2 separate regions of the Homo sapiens genome follow, and region 1 is linked to region 2. The links are contacts of gene promoters, found by promoter capture Hi-C in human tissues and cell types (Jung and others, 2019). All regions are on one chromosome and are shown on one strand. The core of a region is centred on a gene start or on the middle of the fragment in contact, and the rest is flanking DNA. Distances in the headings are between cores, read along the strand shown.

Evidence for each region. The method cuts DNA at HindIII sites, captures the fragments that hold promoters and counts their contacts. A contact is called where the count stands out against the background at its distance.
Region 1: a contact is called between the fragment with the promoter of WDR47 here and a fragment that was not itself captured in region 2, in 1 of the 25 tissues and cell types used here (hippocampus).

What each region holds. Positions count from the first base shown.
Region 1 is chr1:109,040,116-109,044,899 of GRCh38, forward strand. WDR47 (WD repeat domain 47) reads right to left here and starts at 1,987. Exons shown (of 15, transcript NM_001142551.2): 1 at 1,747-1,987. RefSeq lists a silencer at 1,635-2,184. The HindIII fragment of the contact is 14,404 bases long and covers 1-4,784 here.
Region 2 is chr1:108,896,799-108,901,294 of GRCh38, forward strand. It overlaps GPSM2 (G protein signaling modulator 2), which reads left to right. Exons shown (of 15, transcript NM_013296.5): 3 at 66-287; 4 at 694-829; 5 at 1,161-1,303; 6 at 1,844-1,967; 7 at 2,081-2,196. Among named protein-coding and RNA genes, the nearest start is that of GPSM2, 22 kb to the left of the region's middle. The HindIII fragment of the contact is 6,291 bases long and covers 1-4,434 here.

The DNA.
Region 1 (4,784 bases), core at 737-3,236, 140 kb after region 2:
ACAATAGCAAGCATCACCATTTTACAGAATGAGAAATCAGTCAATGTTAAGCTTAGCAGCTCTTACAAGAATGCAATCAGTAGCAAAAGAAAGCTTAAATACAGGTAATCTGATTTTTCAGCTTACTGATCTACTAAGGAAAACTGCACATCTTTTCATAACTAAAGCGTTTCTGAAACTGCAGCATACATTAAGCATTTCATATGCCGCCCATTAAATAACTAATATATTCTATTTCACAAACAGGAAAAGAGGTTGAACACCATTATGTAAGTAGTAACATAGGATAGTACCCCTGTTCTCTTATGACACATTCTTAACAGTACTGGTTTTTAAGGCGAGGGAGAAAAGAACCAGGAAGTGGACCAGTGGGAGATAAACACAGGTTAAAATCCCGTCCAAAAAAAAAAAAAAATTTACATCTTCATAATGGCATCCAAATTCAAGTGTTTGGGTTTTGGCTTTTTTACCTAACAATATACTGTTGTGACTTGACTTTTCCATTACCGTGTAATAATGTTTCTTTCCTATTGGAAGCAATCTCTCCTAATCTCCCAAACCTAAAGTAGAATTATTCATTTCATCTTCTTCCTAAATGAGACCTCGACAATATGCCATATAAAGGAAAATGGGCTCTTAGGCGTTTCTCCTTCTTAGTAAAATGCCAATGCAACATATGCCAACACTGGAGACAAAAAAATTCTACTTGAATTTACTGTGAAAAAAAGATTTATAGCATTTTTTAAACCTACATGTTCATTTCTGTGCCATTAACTTTTTGAGGCATTCTACAGAGTCTCCAACAAAGAGAGAAATAAGTATTAGGATCACAACCTACGAATCTGGGTGGAACAAAGACTTCTCCTTTCATTATGCAGAGAAAACCAAGTTGCCAAAAAAAAAAAACGGTCCCCTCAGATACCATGCACGGTTACTAACTGCACGTCTGGGTACAGAGAAGGAAAAATCATCTGGTCAAAAGCCCAAATGCCGCCCCGGCCTACCCTCGCCCCCCGCCCCCGCCCCCTTTGCCCATGGCCTCGCCCCAGAGCTAGAGTTCCAATATTTTTCTCCCCAATAAAGGGAAGCGGTTTAACCCTTTGAGTTCCACAACCTTGCGTTCTTCTACGCAGGCGCCCCTCCAGCGCAATCCCAGTTCTAAATCGAGTCGCTGCCCCTTTCCGCGACCACACCCAGATCCCCAAAGGCCTGCTCCCATCCCGACCATTGATGTGAGAAAGGCCAAAACCGGCCCCAGCGGGGCTCCCAGCCCCGCCGCTCCCTCTCTTCCTCCGGGCCAAGGCGTGCCCAGAAAGGGACGCGAGCGCGCCCCTCAGTTCTCGCACGGGCTCGACCAAGGGGCGAGGAAGGAAGAATCGGCGCAGCGGCGAGATGGGCACGAACCTCGCGCTCACTTGCTGCTCAGTGCCAGGGCGAGGGGCGTCGCTCTGCCCCCAGAATCCAACTGGTAATGTGGGAAAGGTGTGGTCCAGGACCGGTGACCTCGAACCGGGGCCCAGCAGTTCGCAGATCCTCACCCCGCGATGCTGGGGCCTCACCCACGACCCCAGCCCCCTCCCAGTCGGCACCCAAGCCCACTAAAGACCCCTCTCCGGGGCCGCAAACACAGTCCTCGGGGCCGCCCGGTCGGAGCCGTGTCAGGTGGTGACAGGAGGCGACGGGTGACCATGGCAACCCGAGGTGTGCAGCGGACCGACCCAGCCTCCGACTCCCGGAGTCACCCACCTGAGGGCTCCAGGGCAAGCCCGGAGGAGCGGCGGAGGAGAACGCGGCTGGGAGGCCGGCGGCCAGGGCCCCGAAGCGGCCGGCTCCGGGCTGCGGCAGGAGCACGACGGCGGCGGTCTGGGTTTGGCGTCGGTCCTCCCTCCTACCGCCCGCGCGTCAATCCATCAGTTCGTCAATCCGTCCTTCTCACGTCCGCCCCTCCCGGCCCAGCGACTCCTCAGCTCAGCCTCTTGCAGACTGCGGTTGTCAAGTGCCGGGGAGCCGAGCTCTACCCGCGAGCGGCAGCCAATCGCCGCGCTTCCCCGAGGCGCCTCAGGACCCCGCCGCGCGGGGCGGCCAGGCAGGTGCCTGAGCCGAAGGGCGAGTCGGCGGGGCGGGGCGGGGCGGGGAGGGGCGTGGAGGGGCGGGCCCAAAGCTGGGGCGGGGAGGGGCGGGGCGGACCAAAGCCTGGGCGGGGCGGACCAAAGCCTGGGCGGGGCGGGCGGGGGTCGGGCTTGGAGGGACCGGCTAGGGGCCCGGGGGAGTAGCAGAACGGGTGCGGCAATAGCGTGAGACTGGTGGCAGGGACGTAGACCCTTAGCTGGCCGGTGACCCCATGTCCCAAAATAGCACGAACAGGATTGTCGCCTGCAAATGGAGAAGACTGCGCATTAGGATTGACTCTTCATACTCCTCCCCGATAATTAATAAAGGTTAATGAAATTAATGTTGCCTTCTACCCTTCTTTCGCTGCTTTCCTAGGTCCCACTTCGTCCCAGAAAACTCCAGTAGTTTGTTTGTCCCCTTCCTGGTTTCTCATTTTGCAAAGCTGATCTGCCTTGAAAGCATTTTTCAGTTACTTAACATTTAATATGTTCAGGTTTTGTCTACTCCTGTTGGTTGTAAGCCCCTTATTCCACAAATATACGTGATGTTCAACCGAGCTTAATTAAGCATCCAGGAAGTATAACCATAAGGAAGAATACAATTACACAAACCTGTAAGAACATCATTCTCGGCCAGGCGCGGTGGCTCACGCCTGCAATTCCAGCACTTTAGGAGGCCGAGGCGGGCGGATCACCTGAGGTCAGGAGTTTGAGACCAGCCTGGCCAACATGGTGAAACCCCGTCTCTACTAAAAATACAAAAATTAGCCGGGTGTGCTGGCAAGCCTCCTGTAATCACAGCTACTTGGTAGGCTGAGGCAGGAGAATCGCTTCAACCTGGGAGACGGAGGTTGCAGTGAGCCGAGATCATGCCACTGCACTCCGGCCTGGGTGACAGAGCGAGAGACTCCGTCTCACAGAAAAAAGAACATCATCCTCACAGAGGCGAAAGTCCAGAGTGAGCTGGACCTCCCAAAAGGGGAAAATGGGGTAACAGTCTGGTAAAGAGAATAAACATCAAAAATATTTCTGGCACTCCCATGCTTATTGCAGTACTATTCACAATAGCCAAAATATAGAATCAACCTATGTCAATCAACAGACAAATGGATAAAGAAAATGTGGTACATATACACAATGCAATCTTTTTTTTTTTTTTTTTTTTTTGAGACGGAGTCTCGCTCTGTCGCCCAGGCTGGAGTGCAGTGGCGCCATCTCGACTCACTGCAAACTCCGCCTCCCGGGTTCACGCCATTCTCCTGCCTCAGCCTCCCGCGTAGCTGGGACTACAGGCGCCCGCCACCAGGTCCGGCTAATTTTTTTTTTTTTTTTTGTATTTTTATTAGAAACGGGGTTTCACCGTGTTAGCCAGGATGGTCTTGATCTCCTGACCTCGTGATCCACCCGCCTCGGCCTCCCAAAGTGCTGGGATTACAGGCGTGAGCCACCGCGCCCGGCCACACAATACAATCTTATTCACCCATTAAGAAAGAATGAAATCCTGTCATTTGCAGCAACATGGATGGGACGGGAGGACATTATGTTAAGTGAAACAAGACAAGCACAAAAAGACAAATATTGCACGTTCTCACACATATGTGGGAACTAAAAGAATTGATCTCGTGGAGGTAGTGAATAGAATGGTGGTTACCAGAGGCTAGAAAGTGTAGTGGAGGGCAAAGGGGGGATAAAGAGGTTAATGGGTACAAAAATACAGTTATGTAGCAGGAATAAATTCTAGTGCTCAATAGCATAATTGGGTGACTATAGTTAACAATAATCTATTCTATATTTCCAAACAGCTAGAAGAGAAGATTCAGAATGTTCCCAACACAAAGAAATAGTAAATGGCAGGCCAAGCGTGGTGGCTTATGCCTGTAATCTCAGCACTTTGGGAGGCCGAGGCGGGCAGATCACGAGGTCAAGAGGTCAAGAGATCGAGACCATCCTGGCCAACATGGTGAAACCCTGTCTCTACTAAAAATACAAAAATTAGCCGAGTGTGGTGGTGTGCGCCTGTAGTCCCAGCTACTCGGGAGTCTGAGGCAGGAGAATCACTTGAACCCGGGAGGCGGAGGTTGCAGTGAGCCGAGATTGGGCCACTGCACTCCAGCCTGGTGACAGAGCGAGACCGCGTCTCAAAAAAAAAGAAAAGAAATAATAAATGGGTGGGCACAGTGGCTCATGCCTGAAATCCCAGCACTTTGGGAGGCTTAGGCCAGAGGCTCACATGAGGCCATGAGTTAGAGACTAGCCTAGGCAACATAGTGAGACTCCCTCTCTACAAAAACAAGAATAAAAAATTAGACACGGTGAGACACACCTGCAGTCCTAGCTACTTGAGAGGCTGAAGTGAGAAGATAGTTTGAGCTCAAAGTCCGAGGCTACCATGAGCTATAATCACACTACTGCACTCCAGCCTGGGTGACTGAGTAAGACCCTGTGTCTTAATAATAATAATGCATTTCTAAGGTGATGGATATCCCAATTACCCAGATTTGATCATTACACATTGTATTTACTCCAGAAATATCTACAACTATTATGTAACTATAAAAATTAAAAATAAACAAAATTTAAACCATATTTCTGGGAATACAAAATCTTGTCCAGTTCAAGATAAAAGAAGCGAGAGCTTGAAGATACACATTTCTTTTTTTTCTTTTCTTTTCT
Region 2 (4,496 bases), core at 39-2,538:
AGTTAAAAATACTGTGATGCAGCTGTAATGTTATGTTTAAATGTCTGTCCTGTATAATTTTGTAGAATGGAAGCTTCTTGCCTAGAGCTGGCCTTGGAAGGGGAACGTCTATGTAAATCAGGAGACTGCCGCGCTGGCGTGTCATTCTTTGAAGCTGCAGTTCAAGTTGGAACTGAAGACCTAAAAACACTTAGCGCTATTTACAGCCAGTTGGGCAATGCTTATTTCTATTTGCATGATTATGCCAAAGCATTAGAATATCACCATCATGATTTAACCCTTGCAAGGTAATTAATTTAAGCTTTTAAATATTCTTCCTTCTGAAATTAGCTATTACTTTAAAAAATATTTCTATTCAATTAACAAAAACTAACTTAATACATTTAATGAGTTCTACTTCAGTAACATCGCTTTTCAAAACTAACCTTTAGGCTGAACACAGTTTAATTGAATGAATAGTAGTGAATTGACCCTAGAGTTTAATTAAATGGATGAAAACTAATTACATTCAAATCCAGAAATGTAAGTTTTAAATATTTATTTAAAGTAGGTTTCAAAGCCAATGGGTTTTTCTTACCTTAAGCATGTCAGTTTGTCCTCTTGGAAAACTGTACTCTGGCTACTTTATATTTTAACACCATTTGTATTTTAATACCATTTGGTTTTTTGTTTTTTGTTTTTTGTTTTTTTCAGGACTATTGGAGACCAGCTGGGGGAAGCGAAAGCTAGTGGTAATCTGGGAAACACCTTAAAAGTTCTTGGGAATTTTGACGAAGCCATAGTTTGTTGTCAGCGACACCTAGATATTTCCAGAGAGCTTAATGACAAGGTAATACCGCAGCATTAGATGGTAGGCCTAATATTTTCATTCAAAGGGCTTTGCATTTTAATACTATTTAATTATTCTATAGTTTATTTTAAAATTAATACCAAAAAAGAAAACATTTATAGACTAATAGAAGTAAAAGAAAAAAAATTTAATGGAGAAAAAGAAGGAAATAGTAAGAGGTCTTTCATAAGTAATTATTTGATTGGTTCTGTATGGAGAGCCAATATAAAAATTTTTTTCCCTTGTCCGTAATACTAAGGATATTACAAATATATATGATAAACCTGACCTCTGTTTTCAAAATGTAAACTTTGCTGATGTCTTCATTTAGGTGGGAGAAGCAAGAGCACTTTACAATCTTGGGAATGTGTATCATGCCAAAGGGAAAAGTTTTGGTTGCCCTGGTCCCCAGGATGTAGGAGAATTTCCAGAAGAAGTGAGAGATGCTCTGCAGGCAGCCGTGGATTTTTATGAGTGAGTAGGGGCTGATATGGGCAGTCATGTAGGCCCATCTAAGCCGTGGATCTGCTGTACGTTCTTTATTCAGTAGTAAGTTTTTAAGTTTGGCAAAGATTTTAAAGTTATGAACTAGCAAAATCATCAATTCAGTTGCTTAAATGTTACAGTGTTATATTAGTAGTAATCTGCAGCTTTCATTTAAGTTGCAGACCAGTGCCACTTAGTGGCAAAAGCAAGAAATGTCAATGGTTGGTCTGTTATTTAGAGTAATTTAGTCTTTTACCAATAGAATTTCATAGAACTACTTAACTATAGGGGTTCCAAGATTAACTCTGTGCTTGACCCTGGGCAGAAACCTATCTGAATAGTTTAATAAAGTGTTCCCAGCTATTTCCTATAATTGCTCTTCATCATAGATGTCATCCTTAAAATGTTGCACATTATGGCTGTAAGCTTCCCTACATTTTTTTCTGATAAAAAGAATTAGATATGTAAATCACATACATAAAATTGTTCTGCAAACTTATTTTTTCATCACTTTTTGCGATCCCTTAGGGAAAACCTATCATTAGTGACTGCTTTGGGTGACCGAGCGGCACAAGGACGTGCCTTTGGAAATCTTGGAAACACACATTACCTCCTTGGCAACTTCAGGGATGCAGTTATAGCTCATGAGCAGGTACAGTGGAAAGCCTTGGAGCCAGATCATTTCCTCCATCAAAGTTCTGAACAGTGATTAGATCATTCTTCAGTTTTATTTTATCTACATCTAATTAAAATTGTTTGTTTCAGCGTCTCCTTATTGCAAAAGAATTTGGAGATAAAGCAGCTGAAAGAAGAGCATATAGCAACCTTGGAAATGCATATATATTTCTTGGTGAATTTGAAACTGCCTCGGAATACTACAAGTTAGTCTAATATTTCTGTAGATAAATGTAAAATGAATACTCAGTCCCATTAATTCATAGGCTTTAGGTTTAAAATCTGATTGTAGCAGAACTTTTGGCATCTAAGCCTCAATTTCCTTATCTGTAACAGAATATATCAATACTTCATTTTGGGGAATGCTGTGAGGATTGAATGAAATAATATACTAAACACAGTATCTGGTACACAGTGCTCAATAAATATTATTGTACATAAGATTTAATAGCAGCAGTATGACCCCTTTATAATATTGGTTTTTATCTTTAAAAGTAATTGTTTTTAAATGAAGTTTTCAACCTTTAATATCTTTTAAACCTGTTTAGCATATGTGGTGTATATTGTGTATATGCTTTATTTCACTCAGTTATGGGTTAGAAGAGAGGCCAAAAGAAAGCCTTGTAACAAAAATATTTATAGTCTATACCAGTGATCACTGAATTTTTTTCTCTACCTTCCCACCCTCTTATTGAGCAGTTCTCCCTTTACCCTCTTTCTGCCTATATTTGACTGTCACTGTAAGCTGAGTCCCCCATTCACTTACCTGAAGCATTTACAATCCCAGCTTCTTCTGTGGCAGGATCTCTCTTATCAGTAGATTTGAGACATAGATGATAGAAAGTTTAGACAGCTTCAAGTTGCCTGATCTGTGCTTTCTAGATTGAGTTTTCCCTAGTTAGTGGGGATTGAAGCCTCTTACAGATTTTGGGTAGAAGGCAGTTTGACTAAACCGAAGACACAGTGATTGATTTGTATTTTGTTAAAGAAGCCAATATGAGACAGTTCTGGATAATTTGTCATCTTCATAAAAAAGGTAAAATTGTTTTAGGCCTATCTAAAAAAATTAAATAGCATTCCACTTTGCTTTAAACATCAACTAATGGTTAATATTTGTTGGTTAGGTTAGTTAGATATGAAATAGCCTCCCAAATAAAATATATCACTGTGTACTATGTGAAGGAGTATATATTTTGATTTTAAATATAAAAATTTCCTATATTTAAAGCCAAGGGATATAGAGAAGTCTTAATTATTAAATGGTGTATCTGTGTTAAATACTGAAAGGTTCTATTATAAAATGGATAGTGGCTATTTGACTAAAGAAGCATGAATATAAAGTAATGAAACTTAGTTTTTTTCCTCCCAATAAGCAGGCTAGAACTCAGAACTTTATATATATTCCAAGTCGTTGGTTAGAAATATTTTTAGAACTCTTCTTTAGATTTTTTTTTTTTTTTTTTTTTTAAATACGGAGTTTTGCTCTTGTCGCCCAGGCTGGAGTGCAATGGCACAATCTTGGTGCACTGCAACCTCGGCCTCCCCGGTTCAAGCGATTCTCCTGCCTCAGCTTCTGAGCAGCTGGGATTACAGGTGTCTGCCACCACGCCCAGCTAATTTTTGTATTTTTAGTAGAGACGGGGTTTCGCCATGTTGGCCAGGCTAGTCTGGGACTCCTGACCTCAAGTGATCCGCCCACCTCAGCCTCCCAAAGTGCTGGGATTACAGGCGTGAACCACCACACCCAGCCTGGAATTGTTATCAGGGCCAAACAAGAAGGCTAACAATGTAGATCCATATCCTTCCGGATACAAAGCAGTAGTTTGGTAAACCTATGTTAGTAATTGAATTTGGTTCCAGAAAGATTTCTGATCATTTACAAATCAACTGTACCATCAAAGAATAATGGTATGCCAGAAAGCATTATGCCACAGGATCTGAAAGCAATTCCAAAAGTCTTTCAAAAATATTTGAAAAGACAGGCAACATTAGAATAAGTAGGTAGCCTCCCAAGGTGACAGATTTGAAGGTATCATCATTAAATATGTAACTTTAGATTTGTTTGCTTAAAAAAAGCTATCACGTTACCGCATAGTAATTTGTCATATAGTTATAAGTGATATGAAGTAATTATACTATTTGACAGAAATAATGGGAGGGTCATTTAAATTACTGAATCCAAAAGCATCTATAGGTTTAAGCACTGATAATAACACATTAACATTTATACAGCAACTACTATGCACAAGATGCTATTCTAAGCACTTTATACATATTAATTTAATCCTCACAAAAATCCTTCGAGATATTTCCCCCATTTTATATAAGAAGAGACTGGTATACAGAGAGATTGAGTGACTTTGCCCTTAGCTTAGTAATTGGCAAAGTTGGGATTTAAACCCAGTCTAGCTCCAAGATCTATGCTCTTAACTGCTACGCTAGCTTCTCACTGGCAATACCACAGGTAGAATTTGGGTAATGTTTGGATGTAGTATTCAGTATTTTT